Regions from separate parts of the Homo sapiens genome. Here regions 1, 2 and 3 are each linked to region 4. Evidence: promoter capture Hi-C in 16 types of primary human blood cells and fetal thymus (Javierre and others, 2016). All regions are on one chromosome and are shown on one strand. The core of a region is centred on a gene start or on the middle of the fragment in contact, and the rest is flanking DNA. Distances in the headings are between cores, read along the strand shown.

Region 1 (6,490 bases), core at 1,012-3,511, 300 kb after region 4:
AAAAACTCTATGCCTTAACTTTATCCCCCAACTTTTTAACTTTTCATTATTTATATTCATATCTTACTGTACTGACTATGTCTTGAAAAATGGTTGTAGCTCTTTATTACTATTGGTTCATGGTTTAGTCCTTCTACTTAGGATAAAAGTAGTTTATATACCACAGTTACAGTGTTATAATATGCTGTATTTTTCTGTTTACTTACTATTACTAATGAGTTTTGTAACTTCAGGTGATTATTTATTGCTCATTAATATTCTTTTCTTTCTGTTTGAAATATTCCCTTTAGCATTTCTTGTAGGACAGGTCTGGCATTGATGAAATCCCTCAGCTTTTTGTCTGGGAAAGTTTTTATTTCTCCTTCATGTTTGAAGGATGTTTTCACTGGATAAACTATTCTGGGTTAAAAGTTATTTTATTTTAGTACTTTAAATATGTCATGCCACTCTCTCCTGGCCTGTAAGGTTCCCACTGAAAAGTCTGTTGTCAGACATATTGGAGCACCATCATTTGTTATTTTTTTCTTCACTCTTGCTGTTTTTAGAACCCTTTCTTTATCCTTTACCTTTGGGAGTTTGATTATTAAATGCCTTGAGGTAGTCTTCTTCGAGTTTATTCTGCTCGGTGTTCTATAACCTTGTACTTGGATATTGATATCTTTCTCCATGTTTGGGAAGCTCTCTGTTATTATCACTTTAAAGAAACTTTCCACCCCTGTCTCTTTCTCTACTTCCTCTTTTAGTCCAATAACTCTTAGATTTGCCCTTTTGAAGCTATTTTTTAGAAGCTGCAGGCAAACTTCATTGGTTTTCATTATTTTTTCTTTTGTCTCTGACTGTGTGTTTTCAGATAGCCTGTCTTCAAGCTCACTATTTTTTCTGCTTGATCCATTCTGCTAATAAAGGAATCTGAAGCATTTTTCAGTATGCCAGTTGTATTTTTCAGATCTAGAATTTATGATTGATTCTATTTCATTGTTTCAATCTCTTTGTTAAATTTATGTGATGGAATTCTGAATTCCTTCTCTATGTAATATTGAATTTCTTTGAGTTTCCTCAACACAGCTATTTTGAAATCTCTGTCTAAAAGGTGTCATATCTCTGTTCGTCCAAAATTGGTCCCTGGCAGCTTATTGAGTTCATTTGGTGAGGTCAATGCTTTCCTGGGTGATGCTGATGCTAGTAGATGTTCTTCGGTGTCTGAGCATTGATGTTAGGTATTTACTGTAGCCTGCTCTATATGGGCTTATTTGTAGCCATCTTTCTTGGGAAGGCTTTCCAGATATTTAAAAGAACTTGGGTGTTATGATGTAAGCTTTATCTTTAGGGAGCACCACAAGCCCAGTAAATTTGTGGTTCTTGCTGACTTGTGGAAGTACCACCCTGATGGTCTAAGAGATCCAGAAGAATTCCCTGGAAAATCAGGTAGAGACTCTTGTTCTCTTCTATTACTTTCTCCCAAACATATAGAGTCTCTACCTCTGTTCTGAGCCACCTAAGGCTGGGGATGGAGTGACACAAGCACCCCTGTGACCACCACTACTATGACTGTGCTGGGTCAGACTTGATGCCAGCACAGTGCTGGGCCTCACCCAAGGTCTGCTAAACTACTCTCTGACTAGGGCTCCACAATCCACAGGTGGGAATGTCAGTCAGGCCTGTGTTCTTCCCTTCAGGGCTGTGAGGTCCCCCAGGCTCTGGTTAGATTCAGAAGTGCTGGCCAGGAGTCAGGGACTATAGTCAAAATCCATATATGTAAGTCTACCTGGTGTTCTATTGTATTGCAGCCAAGCTGGCACTCAAACCACAAGACGCAGTCCTTCACACACTTCCCTTCCTTTTCCAAAGGCAGAGGAGACTTACCCCATAGCCACTGTGCTACCCCAGGCCCAGGACTACTGCCAGCCTACCACTAATGTTCTTTTAAGCCCCAAAGACTCTTAAGTCAGCTTGTCTTAAATGCTGCCTGGCCTGGGACTCACCCTTCAGGACAGTGGACTCCTCTCTGGCCCATGGCTGGCCAGAAATGCCATCCAAGGGTCAAGTCCTGGAATTGGGGACCCCAAGTGCCCACTTGGCACTCTACCCCTCTGTGGCTGTGCTGGCACCTAAGGTGGAAAAAAAAACCCAAAAAACCTTTACTTTTTTTTTCTGCTTTTCTCAAGCAGAAGGAGTTTTTCCTCATAGCCACCACAGCTAGTAATGTGTGAGTCTCACCTGAAGCCAGCAAGTCTCAGAGGCTCACCCAAGGCCCTCGATGTAATACCTGGGCATAGCTACAGGTTATTCAGCATCCAAGGACCCTTCAGTTAGTAGGTGATTAATGCTGCCAGGACTGGGTCCTTTCCTTCATTGCAGTGGGTTCCCTTCTGGCCAGAGTGTGTCTACAAATGTTGTCTAGGAGCTAGGGCCTGGAATCCGGGCTCATGACTCTGACTGGTACCCTATCCTGCTGTGGCTGGGCTGGTATCCTAGATGCAAGACAAAGCCCTCCCCACTCTCTCCTCTGTTCTCCTCAAGCAGAAGGAAGGGGTCTGTTTTGGAGCCATGAGCTGTGCAGCCTGGGGTTAGGGGAGGGGTGATGCCAGCACTCCCTTGGCTGCCCAAGCTGGTTAGTCACATGTCCCCTCAGTGCAGTCTCTCTGGGCCTAGTTCAGCACTGGGACTCACCTAAGAGTTGCAGTCCTTATGGCCTAGACTACCTTTCAAGTTTACTTGGAGGCACAGAGTGCTATAGTCCTTGGTGGTGAGGTCTGTGAGCACTCAAGTTCAGACCATTGTGACTGGTAATTCCCATCTGACTAGGGCTGGTTTAAATGCTCCCTCCATGGGCCAGCATCAGCTGAGTTTAGTCTGGTTTTCCTTTCTGCTCTAACAAGACAACACTGAGTTCAATGCCTCACATTGCCATGTTCTCCCTCACCTGGAGCACAGAGATGCTCTCTGCACCACACCACTGCTGCCATGGGTAGGGGAAGAGGGTAGCACTGGAGATTTGGGGCTTTTTTCCTATCTCTTCAGTGCCTCTTTCAGCTATATGAAGTTAAAACCAGATACTGTGAATGCTCACCTGACTTTTGGTTCTTATGAAGATGTTGTTAACTTGGTGTCCTTGCAGCCATGGATGATCTGTGGAGTTTTCTATTTTGCCATGTTGTTCTGCCTCTCCTGGGGCATATTTCTATATCATTGAATATTCAAGCTTTTAGTAGAAAAAGGTTGGGAAAAAATTGGAGGAATTGATGAAGTATCTTTAATTTAAGTAGGTCTAACAAATGTCTGATTCATGGAACATGTTTTGTTTTAAAGTTATGTCCCATATAAACGGAGTCTAAAACATTAATATTTTACAAACAGTATTGGTATGCGGGTGAGATCTCTATTGTATAAGAGTTATTCATTTTCCTCAGGAGTAAAAAATATTAAATGAATTATTCACAAGAATATAGAATGTGTTTAGGTAATGAAGGCTCCACCCTTATGAATGGATTAATGCCATTCTGAAAGGACTTGATTCTCCCAGCCTTTAGAAATGGAAGAAACAAATTTCTGATTATTATAAATTACCTTGTCTCAGGTATTTTATTATAGCAGTACAAATGGCCTGAGGCAGGGGCAGAATCCAAGAAGTGTGTGTCCTAGATTTCATATCAGTTCAAGGTTAATAATGTAGTGAGAGTATGGCCAATCTGGAGTAAGGTCTCAGTTACAGCTAAATCTATGCAAGCCCTGCTCCTACAGACCCTGCAATTGAGGCATCAACCACACCCTGCTGGTGTTATTATGGAAAATCTTTGAGAACTGAGGCCAAGAGTATTTAGAAGTGTAGCCAAATATGAACTAATTGTTTCTCCTTGGGAGGAGTTTGTTCCATGGATTAAGGGAGAAAGAGCAAAGAAGGAATTTGCGATACGTAAAGTTTTTTGACCTGCATACTCAAAAGAGTTTGTAAACTTCTTGTTTCTCCTGCTGCTGACTCAAGTCGGAACCAGTGTAGTTAATAAATCATGTCATGCATGTTCATTCTAGCCTGTTCATTTTCCACCAAGTGGGAAAAAGGAGACCTGGGAAAAGATGGAAGTTTATTTCCTGGTAACTGTGATTAGAGCAGCCATAGCAGCCTTTAATTAGATTGCTTTCCTTGTCCTTTCTGTTTACCAGGAGTTTCAGTCACCTATAGGTTAGGTGGAAGGGGAACAGAAGGTCTTAGTTAATGCAGATCATTAAAGAGAAAAAAATAACTTGATTCTGATTTGGATAAATTGTGTTCATTGGGTCAATTTCCAATTTGAGGCTCAATAGTAAGTATATACCCCGAAGATCTCATGTCTCAAGCAGCTCTGGCTGATTTCCTGCTTGTTTTTTAATTCACTATTATGTATACAATATCACCCTCTGCTTTCTTGAGAAAATAATGTCAAGCTCCCACAGAGAAACTCCTCATGTGGGTAGGAGCCAAATTGGAATAAAGTAACCCCCATGCTAAATCTCCCATCTGTGTGCTTGTATATCTTTGAGAGCTTTGTTTTAGGACTCATATTAATTAGTGAACTGAACCAGTTAACTCAGGCTCATGACTTATCTGCCACCTGAGACTTTGAAAGTAAGAAAAATGCACAGGGCAGTGTAAGATATCAGGAAGTGACGGGGGAAGGCAGAGGAACTGACAGTGATGCCCAGTCTAATGTCTCTCAAAAACAATCAGACAAACAAACTACTTTGCTGGCCAAATCCTAAATTGTAGTTTGGCGTGATTAGACACAAAAGTCTCCATTTGCAACCATATACAAATAGTGTTGTCTTCCCTATGCACTACTTTTTAGAGGCAAACATCTTATTAATACAAATTAAGAACTTAAAACAATTTATTATAAGCAGAAGTATTTCATCGTGATCAAAGTGGGGAATATGAAAACACTCAATTAGAGTTACATTCCAGCTCTGCCAATTATTAGCTCTGTACGTCACCTTTCTCTTACCAGGTCCATGTTTTGGGCAAGTTGTTTAACCTCCCTATACCCAGTTTTTCCATCTGTAAAATGGAAAAACTACTTACCTATATAAATTGTGAGAATTAAATATTTATTATGTGTAAAGTGCTTATAATTACACCTGGCATATAGAGAGCAAGCATTACAAATGTATTATTATTATATTACTTTTTCTTTTTAAAATGAAAGTCTATTGTTAACTTGATATTTCAGGTTTATATCAGACCTGTATTATTCAATTTTTCAGAAGCTATTCAATTGCATTGCCTTTTAAAAAATACTTAAAACATAATTCTATTTCAATTTTGAATTAACAGAAATAGAAGAAACATATTCATTACAGCTAACCCTTAAGCTAAGGATCTCCCACAGCAGTGATTGTCAAACTTAATTGTACATCAGAATCACCTGGAGCATTGTTCAACTACAAATTGCTGGGCCCATCCTCAGAGTTTCCCATGCAATATGCTTAGGGTAGAGCCAAAAATATTGTATTTCTAAGTATTTCAAATATAATATTAATGCTGCTGCTCTGAGGACCACTCTTGAAAACCATTGTCTTAGTAAATGAAATCTACTGTTTGTTGGGGAAATAATTTTGGAAATTTAAACAGTAAATTTATTCTGTGTATGCATGTCCATATATAAAGTGATTATTTAAAAGATGTGTAAAATTAATAATATGTAATTTGCTATGTAATTACAAAGGTAAGATTTACGTTTACATAAATAAAAATTATGTAAATACAAATATGCAGGAGGTTTAACATCCATGTAACACTTTTAATTACATGTTAAGTGATTTTAAAGCAACCAACAGAAAAATGATTCAACAAGCAGTTACAAATTGTCCTGAAACAGATGAAAAATAGCAAAACAGAAATAGAATTTAGTTAAAGGAAACAAATCGAAATGATAGATCTGAAAAATAACGTAAGATAAATTTTTAAAGCTTGCTAGATTGGCTCAGTAGTAGAATGGAGATGGCAGAGAATAGAATCGTTAAGTTCCAATCTGAATACTGATTTACAGATAGGAAGCAGTTATTCCAATCTGAATAACGGAGAGAAAATAGACTGAAAAAAACATATGAATAGAGTCTCAAGGACCTGTAGAATAATAAACCATCCAACATTTATGACATTAGAGAGGTAGGTTGAAAGAGCATTAAAAAATAATGATGTTTAAAACTTTCCAAATCTGGCAAAATATATAAGCCCACAGATTCAAAACACTGACATGTGTTTACATGGAAAATCCCAAGAAATCTACAAACCAAATAAACAAAACTTCTAAAACTAGTAAATGAGGTTAGCCAGGCCACATGACACATATCAAGGCATGAAAATCAATAGCATTTCTACTAACAATGAGCAGGTAGAAAACAAATTTTAAAGTGCCGTAACATTTATAATCACTCCAAAGAAAATTAAATACTTAGGTATTCATTAAAAAGTCTTAATTTTAGGTAGAATTGTTTCTCTCATTCACTTAAACAT
Region 2 (6,812 bases), core at 4,161-6,660, 320 kb after region 4:
TTGTAATGAGGCTAAGCAAAAGTTTCCTAGACAGAATTAGAAAGCAGTAATCATAACAGAAAAAAGTCATAAATTGGACTTCACAAAATTAAAAATTTGTCATTGAAAGACAAAAAAAGAATGGAAAAACTAGCAAGAAGTATTTGCAAACATATATCTGACAAACGACTTCTATCCTCAGTATACATATAAAAACTTATTATAACCAAACAGTTAAAAGACAAAATTAATTAAAAGTGAGCAAAATATTTTTACAGATATCTGACAAAGGAAGAGATACAAATAGCCAATAAAGTACACAAAAAACTGCTCAATGTCATTTGGTCCACACAAAAATTAAAGTTAGAAGAAGATACCCACATATGTCACCAGAATGGCTAAAATGAAAAACAATGACATCACTAAGCTTTGGGGAGAATGTAGACCAGTTCTAACTCTCCTACATTGCTGAAGGGAGTATAATATGGTACAACCACATTGGAAAAACTCTGGCAATTTCTTATCAAACCAAACATACATTAATTTTTGACATAGTAATTCAACTCCTAAGTATTCACTCAAGAGAAATGAAAACGCATATCCACAAAATCATTTGTAGAAGAATGTTTATAGCCATTTTACACTCAAGAGAAATGAAAACACATTTCCACAAAATAACTTGTAGAAGAATGTTTATAGCCATTTTATTCATAATGGAACAGCCTACAAACAGTTCATCATTGTCAACAGGACAATGGATTTTTTAAAACTGCAGTATGTCATTCAATGGAACATTTCATAGCAGTACAAGTTCTCCAAAGAGTTCCACAGCCTTCATAAGGATCATCATTCCCGGTGCAAAGGGCAGTGCAATTGAACCAGTTGACATCTGTTTCACATGCAAAGCTTGCACGATAATTTTGAAAAATTGTCAATATTTCAAATAATATATAAACAGAGGAGTTTTCTTGTTTTGATTAGGTTCATTTAATTTAGATTCCATAGGTTTATAACCCACATGTCTCTTGAATCACTGTCCAAAGGTATTCCTTACTTCTAAGCAAGAGTCATCTTTGCTATTGTGCAGATGTTGGGAACACTAGTAAGGGAGTACTGCTTTCTTGGTTTTTATGCAAAAAAAAAAAAAAAAAAGAATGCTAAAATAAATGTGTTTACAACAGCACACACTTCCTGGTCAAATAGGTCCTGTTTACATATATTATCAGTGTGATAATGTATAGAGTGGTCTGGAATGTAATTTTGCCACCACATGAATAAATGTTGTAGATTATGACTTCATGACTATGTATGTATCAGATATACTTGACCATTCTAGATCCCCAGTGTTAGCCTAAGATGTTTGAAATCATCTGTGCAGACCTTCCTTAACTTCCTGTTAATCCATCCACCAATAAACTTATTTGAATTTACATTCATACTTTCTTTTTTTACTTGTCACAAAGAAAAAAGTGTCTTCCTTTCTTCCTGTCACAAAGACAACCAAACCACTGGTGCACTGGTTGCTTCCAGCCTCCCAAAGGACATTGCCTACTCAATTATCCCCTTGTTTTCCTTTATCTCTTATCTCCCTTTCCAGAGCAGAGTGTTACTCAAATGTGGCTTTGAGTCAGTGACATTAACATCATCTGGGAACTTCTACAAAAGGCAAATTCATGGGTCCAACTCTAGACCTACTGGATCAGAAACTCTGGAAATGGGACATAGCAATCTGTGTTGGGAAAAAGGCTTATGGGGTGCTTGTATAAACTGGCCATAAAAATATGGAACAATAAGTTGTGGAAAGCCACAGGAGGCCTCTGAGTAGGAAAGCCTCCTTATTGCCATCATGTTCCCATGATCAGAATGTGACCTGCTCTTATCTATAAACACTGTGCTCAAGGAGAAAGATACTCCTTTGAAGCATTGGAATGTGGCCAGACATACCAGCTCCTAGTTAAGCCCACTCCCCACAGCTGCTCTCCAATAAGTTAAAGAATAACCAACACCAATCTGTGTAATTTAAATTGTCACTGAAGTGTGAGAAACACTATAATTTAACGCAGTGATTCTCAAACTTAGCTGCACATTGGACCAGCTTTAAAAAAAACAATTGGGACCCTTAAAAAACTATTGATGTTTTGTTGTAGGTGACAGGTGCATGGAGGTTAACTATAATGTATTTCAACTTTTCCATGTATTTGGGAAAAGTCAGTATATTGGTCTCATTAGTTATCATTTGCACATTTATTTCATTAGTCAAGTTGAGCACAGACTTCAAAGTAAATTTGATCAAAGAGAACACAGGAGATTTTATTTTTCTTGAGATTTCCAATTTTTTCTTTTTTTCAAAGTTTTTCCCAAATTTTTAATATTGTCTCACTGAACTATAACTATATTTGTTGGCATTATAATTTGCTTAGTTCTGTTTGTTATACAATGGTGGTTATTACATGTGAAATGCAGAGTTGGGAAGAGATATTTGTAATTGACTTTTGTTAGCCTGTGCAAACTGACTACAGCACACCCCTGTTCTGACCTCATAAAACAGGTTGGGAATCATGATTTTTCTTTGAAAGTATTGGTGTAAGATTGGTATTACTGTTTCCTCTTTAAATTTTCTTTAGCATTCACAGGGTTTTGATTGATGGATTTGAACACTGGTGCTATTATTGCTCTTGAAAATCGTATATCCTCAACTAAAAAAAAAAAAAATCGTCTTTTTCTGTGAGGAGTATGGCCCCAATCACATTGTCTTTCAAGAGACACTCTTATTTAAAATGTGACATATTCCAGAAAAAATAAAATCCAACTAAAAAAAAAAAAGAAAAAGAAAATGAAAAGGCAAAAAGAACCTCATGATTCTACTACCTGGCAAGAACATTTGTAGTTGGCTAGATAATTAGCAGCAGTTTTGTCAAATGCTATTGAAGAAGGATTTACGCTAATAGTAGTTCACTTAATCTTCTACTAAAACATTAATTTAATCAGTGGCTTACTTTCTCTTTAGCTAAAGCATTAGCTAAATTGCATTGGGAAAATAAAGCTTAGAGGCAGAAACTAATTGGAAACATTGCTTTTAGGTAATGAAGGACTTACGCATCTATTTTGGAGATTCATTTAGTTTTAGTTTTAGGAAACTTCACGTAACTCACCTGAAAAGCACATAATTTTAATGGAAATATATAAATGCCAAAGTCATTGAATACAGGCAGAGCTCTGTCATTTCATTTTGTTTAACTTCACCAAACACTTCATCAAAATTTTCCAAAATTTTGGTGGCCCAAGAAGATGATCAAGGCAATATTCCACTACTTAAAGAAGTTAGTAGAGGAGCAATACATATAAACCTCTACCAGGTGATGGGGGAATTAAAGAACTTCATATACGCCATTATAGAAATGAAATGAGAGAGCAATACAATCTTTACAGGTAGGATATAAATACATTCTTTTTCTATAACAAAGTCTATAGACATTGTTATTCTCACTCCCTCTCCCTCTCTCTCTTTTTCTCCCTGCCTTCTTCATTCTCTCTCTTCTTCCCTTCTTCTATCAATTCCCACTTGTCTCTCATTTTGAAGATAAATTCTGAGAAGGTTCAAAGTATCCTTTGAGGATTTTAGAAGTCATATTTGTTCCATGTCCTGTGGCTTGCTAGGAGGTGTGCTCAAGCCTAACAAAGAGCATTCTAGACAGCTACAGAAAGACCCAGTGGGGTATCTTCTTTTGGAGAACTCCAGAAGACATCACCATGGATGGAGAGCACTTCAGCAAGTGAGCATGCTGATCCCAGGGTTGTCCAGGAACAACTTTGCTGGTTGCTTACTCTATATTTTTATCACACTGATTACAAACACAGAGACTATTTAAAGAGTTGTCTGTATCTTTTCCAAAAACAGGACTGGCTACATAATTCAGTGAGCCCAGGGCAGACTAAAAATGCTGAGCCCCTTTTAAAAAAATATTAATATCTTCAAGATGAAGATGTAACACATTAAGCCACATGCAACTGCACAACTCCTAGGCCCACAAAGCCAGCCCTGTCCAGAAGGTAATGTCACTTTAAATATTGAAGCCAGCTAAATCTCTCCTATTCTGTCTAGTACTGGATACCATAGGCATTAGAATATAGCAAGTTCAGGTCAGAATCCTAGCTCTATCACATATCAACTATTGGATTTGGGACAAGTTATTTTGAGTTTCATTACTGAAATATAGTTATGCAAATTAAACTTTCATTCACATGCCAACATCACATATAAATTATACTTGTAAGTTCTATTCTTATGAATTTACAAATAATGTTATGTGTTATAAAATAAGAATGTATAAAAATTTGTGGCTTTAAAATTTTGGTATTTGTTTTAGAGTATTAATTACAGATGGCTGTTCATATCCACGGGTTCCTCATCTGTGGATTCAACCAACCATGGATCGAAAATAATCAGAAAAATTAAAATGGATGATTGACTTTGTACTGAACATGTAGATTTTTTTGTCATGATTCCCTAATCAATGCAGTAATACAACTATTTATATGGCATTTAAATTGTATTAGGCATTATAAATAATCTAGAGATGATTTAAAGTACATGGGAGGATGTGCATAGGTTATATGCAAGTACAGCATGAATGTTGTTTTGTTGTAACATTGAAGAGAAAAAAAATCAATTCTTGGCCTGGACCACGTCTGTGTTGAGTTTGCACGTTCTCTCCATGTCTGTGTGGGTTTTCTGCAGGCATTCTGATTTCCTCTCACGTTCCAAAGATGTGCATGTTAGTTTAACTGGCATGTCAAAATGGTCCCATTCTAAGTGAGTGTGGGTGTGTGTGCCTAATTGCTCCCAGCAATGGAATGGTGTCAGCCTTGGCCCTGGGCTGCTGGGATAGGCTCCAGCTACCCGGGATCCTGAACTGGAGTAGTTGGATAAACATTTATCTGATTTGTTTTTTTGAGCCTTTCTTAAAGGTATATATAGCTCACATTTATTTCACTGTTGAATATCAGAAGTGTTTTGGTCTTTAATTAGAAGTTTGGTGATGTTTTTGTGACAAGAAATATGCCATAAGAACTTAATTCTTATTTATGTCAATTAGCCTATGATTAAATAGATTTTGTTATACATTGTTTTACTTAAAGTTGCAGTTTCCAAGAACTTATCAATGATGATGAGAATTTATTGTGCTACAACTTTTTTATATGAGGAGCTTGAGCATCCATAGATTTTGGTAGGGATTCTGGAACCAATCACCCATGGATTCCAAGGAACAACTGTATACTAATTAAAACAGTCTTTTGGAGTTTTTTTTTCTTGCCCCCTTGGCTATCAATTTTATCGCATTCTCAGTTGTGAGCTACTAATCAAAAGTTTGATTCATGATTAAAAATACTTTTAGATGTTTTTAATATTTAAGTAAAAGTTATAAATTTAGGATTAAGAACATAATATAATGCATTATATATGTTGTATATTGTATTCTTCATTATAATCATTCAAAATTAGTTTTTGATACTCATAGGTACATCCATTTAAATTACACCATGCTTAATAATTTTAAAGATTCATTTATTTATGTTTTGTCTTTCAGTCTTATACAGAAAAGCAGGAGTGCTAATTTTGGACTGTGAAGCTCTCTCTCTGGGTGGCCTGGCAACTTTTTTCATTGTCTTCCAGTGCTAGAGAACTGGCTTTTTAAAGTACATCATTAAGAAACTGGCCCCAAAACTGAAAGTGTCTATTACCCTGAGCAAGATCATTGTTATGCTTATTCCATTAAAAAAAAAAAACAAAAAAAGCAGCGAGGGGCAGAATATCTCTGCCAGGACCCAGCTCCATGGTCCAATCACAACTCTCTAGCATATTACAAAAACAAGAGACCCTCATTCCTGCTGACCCTCTGCCTGTGAGTTCTTACGTACATTACGTGATGCTTGCTGCTGTGTGCTGCTCCCGGTCTTTGGAAGAGAAATCTTAGTAAGTCATTGTGGAATAACTGAGGCAAAATTGTAGCTTTACAAAAAAACTGTGGCAAGAACAGTTAATGAGATCTACCTTCTAAACAAATGTGTAAGTTTTAATACAGTATTGTAAACTTTAAGCACAATTTTATACAGCAGATCTAACATCCATCTTACAAAATTGAAACGTTATGCCCATTGAATAGCAACTCCCTATTTCCCCCTCCATCTAGCCCCTGGCAACCATTCTAATCTCTGCTACTATGAGTTGACTATTTTAGTTACCTCATATAAGTGGAATCAGGTCATTGATCTTCTGTCGCTGTCTTATTTCACTTAGCAAAATGTCCCCAGGAATTCTTAACCTTATTTACCAGAGAGAAACATAAAGATGGGTGAAGTGAAATTACCAAGGTCACAAATCTAGTGATCAGCATTAATTGTCATTTGACTTTCCTATTCCAAGATAAATCATCAGTGATGCAGGCTTCTTGAGGGTGGAGGGGAAGCTAACATATTACTTACAGAGCCTCTCACAAGCACTTTTTATGTATTGACACATTTCATTCCATAACAAACCTCTAGGACAGGTACTAATATTACCCCTTTTTTACTGTGGAAGAAACGGAGGCAAAAGGAAGTTTGATAACTTCCTGGAAGTCATCTCCCCTTTAGTGAGTTGTAAAGCTCAAGTTCAAATCCAGATATCCTGGGGCCAGAGTCCATTTTCTTACCCTCTAGCTGTATTGAAACTCACATACTGGCTCAGGAACCCTTTCCTACTGCTAGGAATGCTGTCCAAACATAGCCATTCTGGGTCAAATAACCAGTTCTTTCCCTGAGGCAGGGAAAGGGAAGAATCTCTCCACTGGGAG
Region 3 (6,780 bases), core at 2,801-5,300, 280 kb after region 4:
TACAGATTTTAATGTAAGGAACACAGGAGAGAGAATGTTCTAACATCAACATAAAAATTAAAATAATGTTCTGGTTTTGAATTATGATTTTTGGCAATAATTTAAAAGGTACTCCTTCACTTTCTATTTGAAAAGACATGTATGATATTTATGTTATCATACTATAGAATTTCAAAACCTTTGAAAATGTTTATTTCCAGTACTGTTTCATTATCCCAGCCTACATCTTTCTCCCATGCTGGATGCTTCCTGCCCTTGAACGTCAGACTCCAAGTTCTCCAGTTTTGAGACTCAGACTGGCTCTCCTTGCTCCCCAAGCTTGCAGGCAACCTATTGTAGGACCTTGTGATTGTGTAAGTTAATACTTAATAAACTCCCCTTTATAATAAATAAATATGTGTATATATATTTATATATCCTGTTAGTTCTGTTCCTCTAGGGAAACCTGACTAATACTAATACAGGTAACCAATCATTAAATTATTATACTAGCAACTGTTTTGCAATCCAGGCACAGAAAAATTTATCTTGGAGAAATTACTGAAACTGATTTTCTTGAAAGTTTCAAAAACATGTTTTCTCAGTTGTCTTAGCTAACAGTAACTATTATTTGTTCTGTTTTTGTTAAAATCTAGGAAAAACAGATTTAAAAGATATGTTAGAAACTCTTGCTTATGCAAGGATGGGCAGATGAGAAACACCAGAAAGAATCAATTAGAAAGACAAAATATTATTTATTTAGATTTGTGAAATTGTTGCTACTGGAATTAAATATTTAATTAATAATTAAATTGTATTTAATAATTATATTTATTTATTAATTTATGTATTTATTACTTATATTTATAATCATAATTACATAATTTATTATTTATTTATTTAATAATAAATATTATTCATTTAATTTGGTGAATTATTCTTTTTCCCCCCTCCCTGACATAAAACTAAATAATATAAGTCTACAAAATGGGACAGCAGTAGTTCATTGCTTTCTCTACTGAAATATACTATTTCCTTAGCCAAATTATGCTACTACTAATCTATAAATTTTAATGAATAGTACCAAAATATTTTAGAGTTAGAAGGAATATTGAGGACTACCTGCATTACATTCTAATCTACAAATGAGAAAACAGGCCAAGGTCATGTGTCCAACGTTATACTGAGCACAAATAGTTGAAACAGGACTGCAAATTACAGATTCCTTTTATCCCCCAGTATTCTTGCAATCACACAAAAAATTTAACAGACTTTTTTTTTTTTTTTTTTTTTGAGATGGATCTCGCTCTGTTGCCCAGGCTTGTGTGCGGGGGCACGATCTTGGCTCACTGCAACTTCCGCCTCCCAGGTTCAAGCAATTCTCCTGCCTCAGCCTCCCGAGTAGCTGGGACTACAGGTGCATGCTGCCACAGCCAGCTAATTTTTTGTACTTTAGTAGAGACGGGATTTCACCTTGTTGCCAAGGCTGGTTTCAAACTCCTGAGCTCAGGCAATCCGCCTGCCTTGGCGTCCCAAATTGTTAGTATTACAGGCGTGAGCCACTGAGCCCAGCCTTAATGTGCAATCTTTTATAACAATGGTTAATAGAAAATTTTTAGATATTTGTTTCAAATTTATCTACTGTTGTAAATTAATCGTAAGCAAATGCTAACATAGCACATCTCAACAATACCGACTGATCTCACGGCAATCTTCTACCTATGAAGGAAAAACTAAATTACTATGTTACAAAAACAAAAGCATTTAAAATACCTGTCATCTATGAGGTATTTCAATTTACTCATCCATTCATTTATTGATACAGTCATATTTTTCACAGCCACCATTCACATCTGAGTTTAATTTCATTTATTAAGATATATTTTTAGATTCTTTTGTGAAAGATACTTGTTGTTTGACAGATTCACTTGCATTGAAAAATTTAATTGTTGGTCATACAAAGAATATCAGATGATCATAGACAGACTCAAACAATTACCTTGATGAAGGGAAAGAACTATAGCTAATGGGCAGCCAAATACTACTTTGTCCAGATGTGACCTAGCCTGCCTGTTAGTCTGACAGATAACATGGAATAGACAATATGTCTGGAGATGTGGGAATACTTTATTCATAGTTCTGGCAGATTCACAGTCAGTTATAAAAATTATTCTGGGGACTACTACTATATTTCCTATATCCTTGAATTGTTTATTCTTAGTTTCCTATATATTATAACATTTCAATATTTCTGTTTGTTTTCTGTGTCTGTATAGCTCTCTCTGTTCTGTCCGGTTTTGTGTATTCCTGTCTACCTGTAATTTTTGCCACTTGTTTGAGATATGGCCATAGGACCTTCCTAGATATGGAAATCAGAGAAATGTGGTGCTGTTTTCTTAACTGACAGCAAGCTAATATTGTTGGCCTTTTGAGAGATCATTGTATACTATCACTGTTCTTTGCCTGTGAATGAAATCACTTGAGAGATAGGCAAAGGAGTAAAACTGACTTCATCATTAACCTGATAAAGCTGTTTAGAGGACAAGGCTTCATTCTCTAGCAATAATAAATTTGCAAAAGGGTGCTGAATCAGAATTACTCTCACTGTCTCAGGCAGAGCTGGAAAAAAACACAGCCCTTTATTCTAGAGTCCTACCACCATAAACCTCACTCCCTGAAAAACCTAGGAATTCGCGCTGTCTGTTAACAGGCTGTCTCTCCAAAGAGAAACACAGCTGAACTTCTCATACCCAGTTGCTTTGCTCAAACTCCCCAAGAACAATCATTTATCCCTGATCCCTGAGGCAAGTAAATGAGGGAACAGATAAAGATCAGAAGTCTTCTCTAATGCCAGTATCTCTACATGGAAATATCAGCAATGGAGAGTAATTTTGGTAGAGGTATTGCTTGTTCCCTTAAGTCTCTTCTTCTCCCATAATATCTCTAATTTCACTGATTCCACATGAAACCTGGAATACACAGAATATTTCTGACCCTTCTATGTAACTAGGTTTGGAGATATGGTAAAGTTCTGTCCCATTAGATGTTAATTGTCTAGTGGGTACTTTAACAGATAATTGGCACATACCTTTCCTTGATTCTTTCCTTATTCCCGCTGGATACACGAGAAAACCATTGTTTTAAAAAATATGTCCAGGAGTTGATAAGCTTAACTGAGCAATTTATTTAAAGTTGAATAACCTAATAGAGTTTTAAAGTTTTTTTCTGGTTACTTTTATATAGTTTATATTTATATAGTTTATATAACACTGTTTATATTAGCATAAATGGAATCAATTATTTGCAAATGGTTTCCTATAATTTGGCATGTTGTTATACTTGAATATAAACAGGAAGAATTGCCTTCATACTATTGCTTCTCCTTTTTAATTTCCTCTCCCTTGATTTTCAGATGAAACAAGTCTTTCAGCATCTTCCTAAAATGTGAGAAAACCTCCCAAGCACCCGTAAAGTAATAAATGTAGAGTTATTTTCTCTTTAACTGGTTTACAAGTCATCAATGAAGAGACACCACTATGTAAAATTCATTTATCTGAATCCAATAGTATTTTCAGTTTGCCATACATTCCCAATAAAACATAATCATCCCTAGTATAGAAAACGTTGTCACCAAACAAACTCAAATTTCTATGGAGGACTAGTGGAGTGAGTTAGTACTACCAGGGGCTCCCTCAAACTGAAGACCACAAATGGCATGTAAAGGGAGAAACTAATATTTCGCACAGGCAGATTGTCGCATTAGAGCATGTGAACAGATTGCCAGGCAGTGTAGGCTAGGTTAAGCTACGGTGACAATCTCAAAGTTTTAGTGGCTTATAAAAATAAAGGTTTATTATTTACTTACATGTCCTTTGTAGGTCATCAAGATACTTTTGTTCATCACAGTCACTCAAGGACCTGCTGCAGAAAAGACTTAATCTTGACCCAGTCTTTCCTAAGTACTAAGGCAGGGGGAAATGGACACAGGCATGGGAAAGTAAATATGACAACACAGGCACTAGTTCTTAATATTTCTCCCCCAAAGTGACACACATTACTTACAGTTACAATTCACTGGCCAAAGCAAGTCATATGAATACAATCAACTTCAAATGACCAAAAAAATGCAATCTTACCATCTTCCTGGAAGGAGAGAAAATAGCTTGTAAATAGGACTAATGACTATCTCATATATGTTCTGTTTCTTATGTTTGTTTGGTTTGTTTTCACGAATTCTGCTTCACTGTTGGCTTTGAATTTATCATTTAATTTTTATCAACTAACATCGTAGTTTATTAAGGTTTATTTAGCAACTGAGTAATGGTAGTAAAAGGCCCTGAGCATTGATGTCAGTAAGGGAGATGAAAGACATATAGAGAAGTTGCTTGATTGCACACTAGCACAGGTGTCATAGATAAACCTCTACTCACTTCAAAATGTCGTCTGCCTTAAATGGTTAAAGTTTAGAAAACTGTTAAAAACCAAGTGTTGGTAAGAGTATAGAGTAACTTGACTTACACTTACTGTACATAAGACACAAACTTACTCTAAAATTCAGCCAGTTTACTCTTAGATGAATACTCGAAGTGCAAATGTTTACCAGATTTTGTGCACAATATTTGTAGTAGTTATATTCATAACACCAAATGCAAACATCCTAAATGCCATCAATAGAAAAATGGACAATTAATATGTATTATACTCACACAATGGAATACTGCAAAGGAATGAAAATGAGAAACTACTGATGTGCAATATAACATGGATAACCCTCAGAAGTTATCTCTATTAGTATGATCTCTCCAGAAAAATAGAATAAATAGGATAGCTTTAGACAAAGATGTACATGTAGGCTTATCATAAGAAACTGGCTCATGTGGTTATGAAGGCTGAGAAGTTCCATGATCTTCAGATAGAAAACTGGAGACACAGGAGAGCCAATGCTATAGTTCCAATCTCAGCCTGAAAGCTTCAGGTGAGCTGATGGTGCAGGCTTCAGTCCAAGCCCAAGTCTGAAGGCAAAAGAAGACCATGTCTCACATAGAGGACAGGTAGAGAGAGAGTGAATACTCTCCAAGCCTACCTTTTTGTTCTGTTTAGGCCTCCAACAGATTGGATGAGGTGCACCTACATTTAGGTAGACAATATGCTTTATTCAGTCTAACAGTTAAAATGTTAATCTTATCCATAAACACCTTCACACCCAGTATGTTTAACTAAATATCTCACTACCCTATGGTCCAGTCAAGTTGACACATAAAATTCACTATTACGCTTTATTAAATGAAAGAAGCAAGAGTCAAAAGAATATACCCTGGATGATTTCATTTGATGAGTTCAATATAGGTCAAAATAATGACTTGAAGATAGAAGCAAGCATTGTGGCCACCTCTTTAGAGTGTGCTGAATGGTATAGCACAGAAGAAAACATTTTGGAGTACTTCAAATGTTCCATATCCACCTAGTTGATACATGGATGTATGTATAACACTGAAAAAATATTTAACTTGCTTATTTAAATTTGCACACATTACAAATTATATGTTATACCTCAGTTTAAAAATGATATATTTGTCCTTTCACAAAAACAATAATTATTCAGCTATGCATAAATGAAAATAGCTCTGGGAGAGTTCAAGATTCTATTGAAGAAGTTGCAGCCACACAGTGGCGCAATAGAACCAAAAATAACTTCACAGATAGACTGGGAAGAACGGTTTCATTTAGCTACTTTTGTTTAATTCCTCAGGCCAGCACAGCTGCTCACCGTGAGAGGTCATCTTGGCCCATGAGTTCTCCTTATGAAGGAAAAGAGGATCAAGATGAACAACCAGTTTCCCCAGCTTTTAGGCTGAAGGAATTACTTTGGTTTTAACCCAGCCAGATTGCTAGGGAAATCAGCATAGCTGATATATTTGGAGATGGCTAGGAACAAGGGGGTAGGAGCCATTAGTATCAAGTACATGGCAGCAGGTGCTACCTCAGTTCTCAGTGGCCCGCCTTGCAGAGGACTCCAATAATGTCACCATTAAGGACCTCAACAACCTTTATGGCCACTGCAGACTCTTGAAACCTTCACCACAAAGGGGTCCATATTTTCCCTTTTCTGACCTCAGTTGCCTAAGCTGCAGCATCTGCTGCAACCACTGAAGGCACCCTAGCCAGTGATGCCATGGAGACTCCGGACCCAGTATGGCCACTTTGTATAAATGTATACAACTAGGCTCTGCTCCCATCACCAACCTCAGCTCCCATTGTAGTGGGCACACCTGCAGTTGGCCCCTGTAGCTAACTACAAGCATGTTGCCCACTTCAACATCCACCTACCCAGTCATGCTCACCACTTGACCAAGAGATGCCAGTGTGATTCCCAGCAACCCTAGTGGCCATCGTGGGCCCTATGTAAACATCAATTCCAAGACCACACATTTGTCAACATTGCATATTCCAGCTCCCTGATCACTGATCCACCACCACTTGCCCCAAACCCAGAGTTGAAGCACACTCCCACAGTTTTTGTCTTGAACACCACTAGACCCAGGGCCCAGAGTACACCCACAAACAACCCTACTTTTGGCATCCCTTCATCCTCATTCCTCCTCTGCAGGTGAAGGTTTTTCCTTACCAAAGCCAGTCCATAAAGTCTGTGATAGGTAACTGCTTCTCAAATGTGCAGACACCAACACAAAGAAACAAAGAACACACAAAAAAGGAGGGAAACATGAAATCATCAAAGGAATGTAATAACTGTCCAGTAATTGACAGTTATTCTAAAGAAGCATAGTAAGGTAAGAGAGAACA
Region 4 (6,445 bases), core at 3,189-5,688:
CATGACTCTGGAAAAACTATTTATAATATTTATTTATTCCCATATTTGTTTTATTTCTATTATTTTTTATTTACACATACAGTGTCTTGCTCCACGGTGAATTTTTTACTATGGAAAATTATAAATCCAGGGACAATAAGACTTAAGCATAGAAATGCATGCCTTAGGTGCTGCACGGTTGAATTCTTATGTGGATTCATATTTTAGCAGATCATGCCAGTAGCATCACTGAATGAAAGGAGCTATTTATCACTAACGTATAAACCATTTAGACACCATTCCCCACTTCTTTTATAACCAATTATTCACAAAATGTGCTATTATTCTTACACGATGAAATATAAGAAAAGATTTTTTTAAAAAGTGCTGGTTACCCAGATTATAATGTAATCAAGACCTCTGAAAGCTGCCTTCTCATAAATGAAAGACCCCTAGTTAATCCTCTACTACACTGACGAACCCAGTATTGGAAAGGGTATGTGGCAGTAGGAACTCTTATCCACTAACGTTTGGAATGTAAATTGGCACAAGTACTTTAAGATCAATTCAGTGCTAGCTGGTAAAAATGAAGATCTTCCTACCCCATAAACCAGAAATTTTATTTCTGAATATATGCCTTCAAAAGGCTGCTACAAATGTGCATAAGGACAATTGCTTTACATAATAGAAACAATTTAAATGCCCATTAAAAGGGCAATGGCCACCAATTATGTTCATTATATTTATAAAATGAAATAACATATGCAGTGATTTAAAATAAATGTAATTTTATGTATTATCATGAATTTTTAAAGAATATAATCTTAAGAGAATAAAATTTGTTTTAGAATTATACCTAAAATAATATTTATATAACTCAAAAAACAAGTAATTATCTCTCACTCCATATATTTGCATATATATGTATGTATGTATATGTTTGTATATGTATGTATGTATGTATATAATTTTTAAGATACATACATTTTATAGTAAAGCCAGAGGAAGAATAACCATAAGTCCAGTAAAGTATTTCTAAAGCCAGTTCATCCCAGTCCTTGGTTTTGCCCCAGAACTGTAAGATTATGTCTTACTCCATTTTCCATTCTAGAGAATATTAGTCTTTGCTTTGATTTATAACAGGCAACATTTCTATTCTGTCACTATATAGATTTAATTGACATTTCTCTCACCTTGTACTGAGAGAAAGCATTTTGATGCGTCTTTCAGACATTAAAATGTAAGTCAAATACTAGCCACTAAATAAAGAGTAAAGTTATGAACATCACTGTAATATTGAATGGACAACTCTTTAGAAACACCTGTGATATGTCCTGAAAATAGTCTATGGGCAGAAGGTAATTGTGCAGCAATTATGGTGCAATTTGTTTCCATTTCCTTTTGGCTGGAATGGAAGAAAAGGGGGGATATATGAGGCTCCTCTTGTTTCAGGAGGTACAGGACCAGAAAGGCAGATCATCCTGAGTAAATGAGCAAGCCCATGCAGCAGAGCAGCAAACCAGTGGCTCAGGAGAGAGCGATGACCAATAGGGAGTTTCCTGGGAAGAGGCAAAGCCCATTCACCCTATGGTTTCTGATATTCGTGTTCAAGTTTCCTGTTTCTTACAGCAATGCCCTCGATGTGATCTCAAGTCTTCAGTACTGTGTTAGACATGCCCACCTTGGGTTGGAATCAAGTGAGTGGGCCATAAAAACTGCAGGCTGGTGGCAAAGTCAAACTGATGCTTCTTGAAAAGGTCAAGGGCTTCATGGCACAGAGCCAAGAGGATGGTATGACCATCGTTCTTCTAGGAAGGCAGCAGGTGTTAGGAGAAGAGCACTGAGTACTATGAAGGTGAAGTTGAATGGCAGCAGCAATAGCAACAGGAGAGAGGCCAGCTTGTGGAGCAGCATCTCCTGGCTGCGTGAACACACAGTGTTAGGACACTTGAAACATGTGAGAGTCCTATTAAACAGAGTTTTGTGAGCCTCTCCTTGAGAAAAGCTGAGAAAAAGAAAGGAATGAACAAAAGGGAGATCTCAGGTTGGCAAACACTTAGCCTTTAAAAAGAAAAAAAACATTGGTATTGTCTTTGGCAAGACAGGGAGAGTGCATAAGGGAAGAAAAATGCATTGAGTATACCTCACCAGTAGCATTACCAGGTTCGATGATCTGAAAAGCCTCCACTGCAGATTAAATATTAAAAGATCCCATCAGTCAGTCATATGCCCATGTCATCATATGCCCAAGTCATATATGGTTGTCTTTGGAGAGTTCACAAATATGTTTAATTCACTAAGATTTTTATTTTTATTCCAAAATTTGTGCTGTGTAGGGCAGTCAAAATTAACTGGTGAATTCTGACCACATTTCAAAACATCTTGTTTGATAGCAGCATGATTTATATTCCTTTAGGTATATACCCAGTAATGGGATGGCTGGGTCAAATGGTATTTCTAGTTCTAGATCCCTGAGGAATTGCCACACTGTCTTCCACAATGGTTGAACTAGTTTACAGTCCCACCAACAGTGTAAAAGTGTTCTTATTTCTCCACATCCTCTCCAGCACCTGTTGTTTCCTGACTTTTTAATGATCACCATTCTAACTGGTGTGAGATGATATCTCATTGTGGTTTCAATTTGCATTTCTCTGATGACCAGTGATGATGAGCATTTTTTCATGTGTCTGTTGGCTGCGTAAATGTCTTCTTTTGAGAAGTGTCTGTTCATATCCTTCACCCACTTTTTGATGGGGTTGCTTGTTTTTTTCTTGTAAATTTGTTTGAGTTCTTTGTAGATTCTGGACATTAGCCCTTTGTCAGATGAGTAGATTGCAAAAATTTTCTCCCATCCTGTAGGTTGCCTGTTCACTCTGATGGTAGTTCCTTTTGCTGAGCAAAGACACATGCACACGTATGTTTATTGCGCACTACTCACAATACAAAGACTTGGAACCAACCCAAATGTCCAACAATGATAGACTGGATTAAGAAAATGTGGCACATATGCACCATGGAATACTATGCAGCCATAAAAAATGATGAGTACATGTCCTTTGTAGGGATATGGATGAAGCTGGAAACCATCATTCTCAGCAAACTATCGCAAGGACCGAAAACCAAACATCGCATGTTCTCACTCACAGGTGGGAATTGAACAGTGAGAACACATGGACACAGGAAGGGGAACATCACACACCGGGGCCTGTTGTGGGGTGGGGGGAGAGGGGAGGGATAGCATTAGGAGATGTACCTAATGTAAATGATGAGTTAATGGGTGCAGCACACCAACATGGCAGATGTATACATATGTAACAAACCTGCACGTTGTGCACATGTACCGTAGAACTTAGAGTATAATAAAAAAAATTTTTTTAATCTTCTTTGATAGTGTTAATAACTTAATTTTTTGTATTAAAGTTTTTCTAAATGCTCACGACAAACATTAGAAAAAACTTAGGAAACATACAGTTTAATTTAAAAATATTAATCATATTCACACATCTTTTCTGCAAAACGACAACTTAAATAATGGTAGCTTTTTTCAACTCCAAACACTAAGAAAACTACAACAACAAAACCACTCCTCTTTGTCAAATAAGGAAAACTCAAACTTTTGGCAGTCTGCAAACTGTGAGGTTGACTTTATAATTTTTCATCACAAGGTATACCTCCTGAAGCCTCTTAACTATTTTCAGAAAAAGACAGTGTTGCTGATAATGCAATATATCCTGCATGTTCAACCTTTGTGAATCATACCATGTAGGGCAATTGACTTGGTGAGCAAAATCTCCATGGTCACCTGGGTAGCTGCATTTAGAAATAGGAGCTGTCCAGTCAAGGTTACAGCACTTGTTTTCTTTCCTTAGAATTCAATGCAGTTAAATATCATCTGTAAATTTTGATTAGCTTTGCAAGGCTATTGAAGGTTTGTATATTCCAATGCCTCTGATTAATCAAATTCAATTAAAAATGAAAATAAAGATTTATTTATATAATAGTAGGGAATATATCCTCTTCTTATTTATTTTGAGTTGAAGAGATGGAGATAAATCCAATAGAAAAATAACAATAATAATGTTCAAACATTTTCAACATGTAAAGAATTGTATTTAGAACTATCAAAAATTTATACAATAGGATGTTTTATCACAGAATCTGGAAAGGAGACTTCTAGAAATTGAGAAATACAGGATATTTCTGATATAAGACTGAATGCAAATGTGTATATTCTAAGAAATACAAAAACAACTTGGTAAAAAAAAAAAAGACACTTAAAATGAGTGCTGTGTGCTTTCCTTTCTGGTTTTTATTATTTTTAAATTGTTCCTTCAGCCACCAAAGTTATATGATGGTTTCTGAACAGCGTTTACTTTTGTGACAGTTTCATCTCACTCTGTTGTCCAAACTGATAAAGTCCAGAAGTCTAGAAACAGCAAGGGACTCCCTTCCTCTGTTATATGTAAGCTGACAAGAGGCAGACAAACACGTTCTGAAGTTTTGTGCATGCTGCGTTTTCTCTCCTTGCTGCAACAAGAAAAGCCTTTGTTTTCCAACCTGGCAACCTTTGAAGAAGTGACTCAGACATCTTCATGGCCTCTAAAGGTAAGAGTAAATATAACCAACTAATAACTTTTTCTTATATTAAGACTAAAAATATACAATTGTGGATGTGTTACAACCAGTTAGATTGGTACTTTAAAAGCTGTCATTTGTCACTTTTGAACATTGTGATTTTAAAATCTTAACTCCCAGGAGCATGTTGAGTTACATGTAAAAACACTTTATCTGACAGACTGTAAAAGTTCAGATGTAAACGATGTTTTAGTTATCATGAATACAAACATAGTGAATTAATAAGAAAAGCTGCATAGCAAAGTTTAGAATGGGAATCTTCAATGTTAAACACAAGGACAGGGTGATATTTTAAGTTTAAAAGGATTTGAAGAAAACTTTTCACACATAAGTTAGAAAGTGTTAAAGTGCAATTTAATAATTTTTTTAATTAAAATATTAAAAATTTATGTGGGTACATAGTAGGTATATATACTTATGGGATACATGAGATGTCTTCATACAAGCAGGCAATGTGAATTAAGGACATAAAGGGGAATGGGATATCCATCCCATCAAGCATTCAGCCTTTGAGTTACAGACAATCCAGTTACACTCTCTAAGTTTTATTTTCCCATTTGTTATTCAAATTATGTGATATAGCCATTTATTATAAAGAATCTGACATGCGTTATTATTGATTCTTAAATGTGATGGGCTAGAAATAAGTATTTCTGAATTATAAAGCAAAAATATCTTGAAATTTCCTTATGGTAAATTAAAGATAGAAAACAAACAGAAAATATCTGCTTTAAGCGCACAGATCACTTAGCAGACTTTTGGGGAGTAGGACTGATGAGTTTTTTCTCAAATTCCTAAAACTGCAAAAATATCATTACGTTATCTTACTTTAAAGAAGGTCTAAAAAGACAAGAGATGTAGTTGTTTTTAAAGTAAGTTGCAATCTCACTAAAAACACTTGTGAAACTGTGTAAGAAATAAAATTATAATGTGCTTTCATTTCATTGTCAGAATGAACCACTAAAGCCTAGGCTATAATGAAAAGTTTTAGCATGAAGAATTATAATTAGTATAATTGGTGAAAACCTTTTAAATTAATTACAAATAGGATAATAGGGCTCATCAATTTGTAATATCCTAAATTAGTGATCCATTCAAACAAATGTGTATGCTTACTTGCTTCCTTTATCAAAACACACTTTTGGTCACTATTTAATATGAAACAAATGAGATAATCTTTCCATTTTTTATCAATCTTTAATGTAGACCAGTCCCTCAGTCCCTCAGAATCACTGAGAAAGCTCACACAAATTGTAAAACATAGATGTGAAATAGCAAAATCATGAATTTAACATATGTGTCATTTTTTTCTATCTGAAGACAAATAAACAAAAAACCTTGACAAATATTTCCTTTCATTTAAGACTGACACTACTATTTAGTCCAAAATACTTCATCACTTTATAAAATAAGAGTTACAGCAATACTGTAGACTGTAAGGTAAAAAGTTGCAGAGTGTATAAAATATTTATAAGCTAGTTATACATTTTTAAAAGAGTAGATAGAAATTCAAAGCCAGTACGAAATTCAAAGGAGTTCCTTCTTCATCTGGTTGTCTGAGTCTTTGAAGAAACTTGTGACTGGAAAGTAATATTATGTCAAAATATGATTAATCTAACAGGAAGCAGTGATGTTCCATAATGATAAAGACCCAAGTCTAAACTTAGAAGCAAAACTTCAGGTGGAAAACTGACCCTCCTTCTGCAACCGGCTCAAAATATTTAATGCATGGAAGGATAAAACACCTATTAGAGACTTCATACTACCTAGGAGAATATAAGTGATAATGAAGCTTTCTTGTGAATTAGATATCTTGTTTAAGAGGGCAAGT

What was found. Contacts are between HindIII fragments. The CHiCAGO score rates a contact against its expected background, and 5 or more counts as called.
Region 1: a contact is called between a fragment that was not itself captured here and the fragment with the promoter of PLSCR5 in region 4, in 2 of 17 cell types (total CD4 T cells and monocytes). The highest score is 5.5, in total CD4 T cells.
Region 2: a contact is called between a fragment that was not itself captured here and the fragment with the promoter of PLSCR5 in region 4, in 2 of 17 cell types (naive CD4 T cells and total B cells). The highest score is 6.1, in naive CD4 T cells.
Region 3: a fragment that was not itself captured here is called in contact with the fragment with the promoter of PLSCR5 in region 4 in 1 of 17 cell types (monocytes); the score reaches 5.9 in monocytes.

The regions. Positions count from the first base shown.
Region 1 is chr3:146,296,953-146,303,442 of GRCh38, reverse strand. No RefSeq gene overlaps it. Among named protein-coding and RNA genes, the nearest start is that of PLSCR4, 49 kb to the right of the region's middle. The HindIII fragment of the contact is 1,887 bases long and covers 1,318-3,204 here.
Region 2 is chr3:146,279,061-146,285,872 of GRCh38, reverse strand. No RefSeq gene overlaps it. Among named protein-coding and RNA genes, the nearest start is that of PLSCR4, 31 kb to the right of the region's middle. The HindIII fragment of the contact is 4,771 bases long and covers 3,025-6,812 here.
Region 3 is chr3:146,326,224-146,333,003 of GRCh38, reverse strand. No RefSeq gene overlaps it. Among named protein-coding and RNA genes, the nearest start is that of PLSCR4, 79 kb to the right of the region's middle. The HindIII fragment of the contact is 1,801 bases long and covers 3,150-4,950 here.
Region 4 is chr3:146,603,339-146,609,783 of GRCh38, reverse strand. It overlaps PLSCR5 (phospholipid scramblase family member 5), which reads left to right and starts at 4,438. Exons shown (of 8, transcript NM_001085420.2): 1 at 4,438-4,584. The coding sequence starts at 4,572. The HindIII fragment of the contact is 8,012 bases long and covers 1-6,408 here.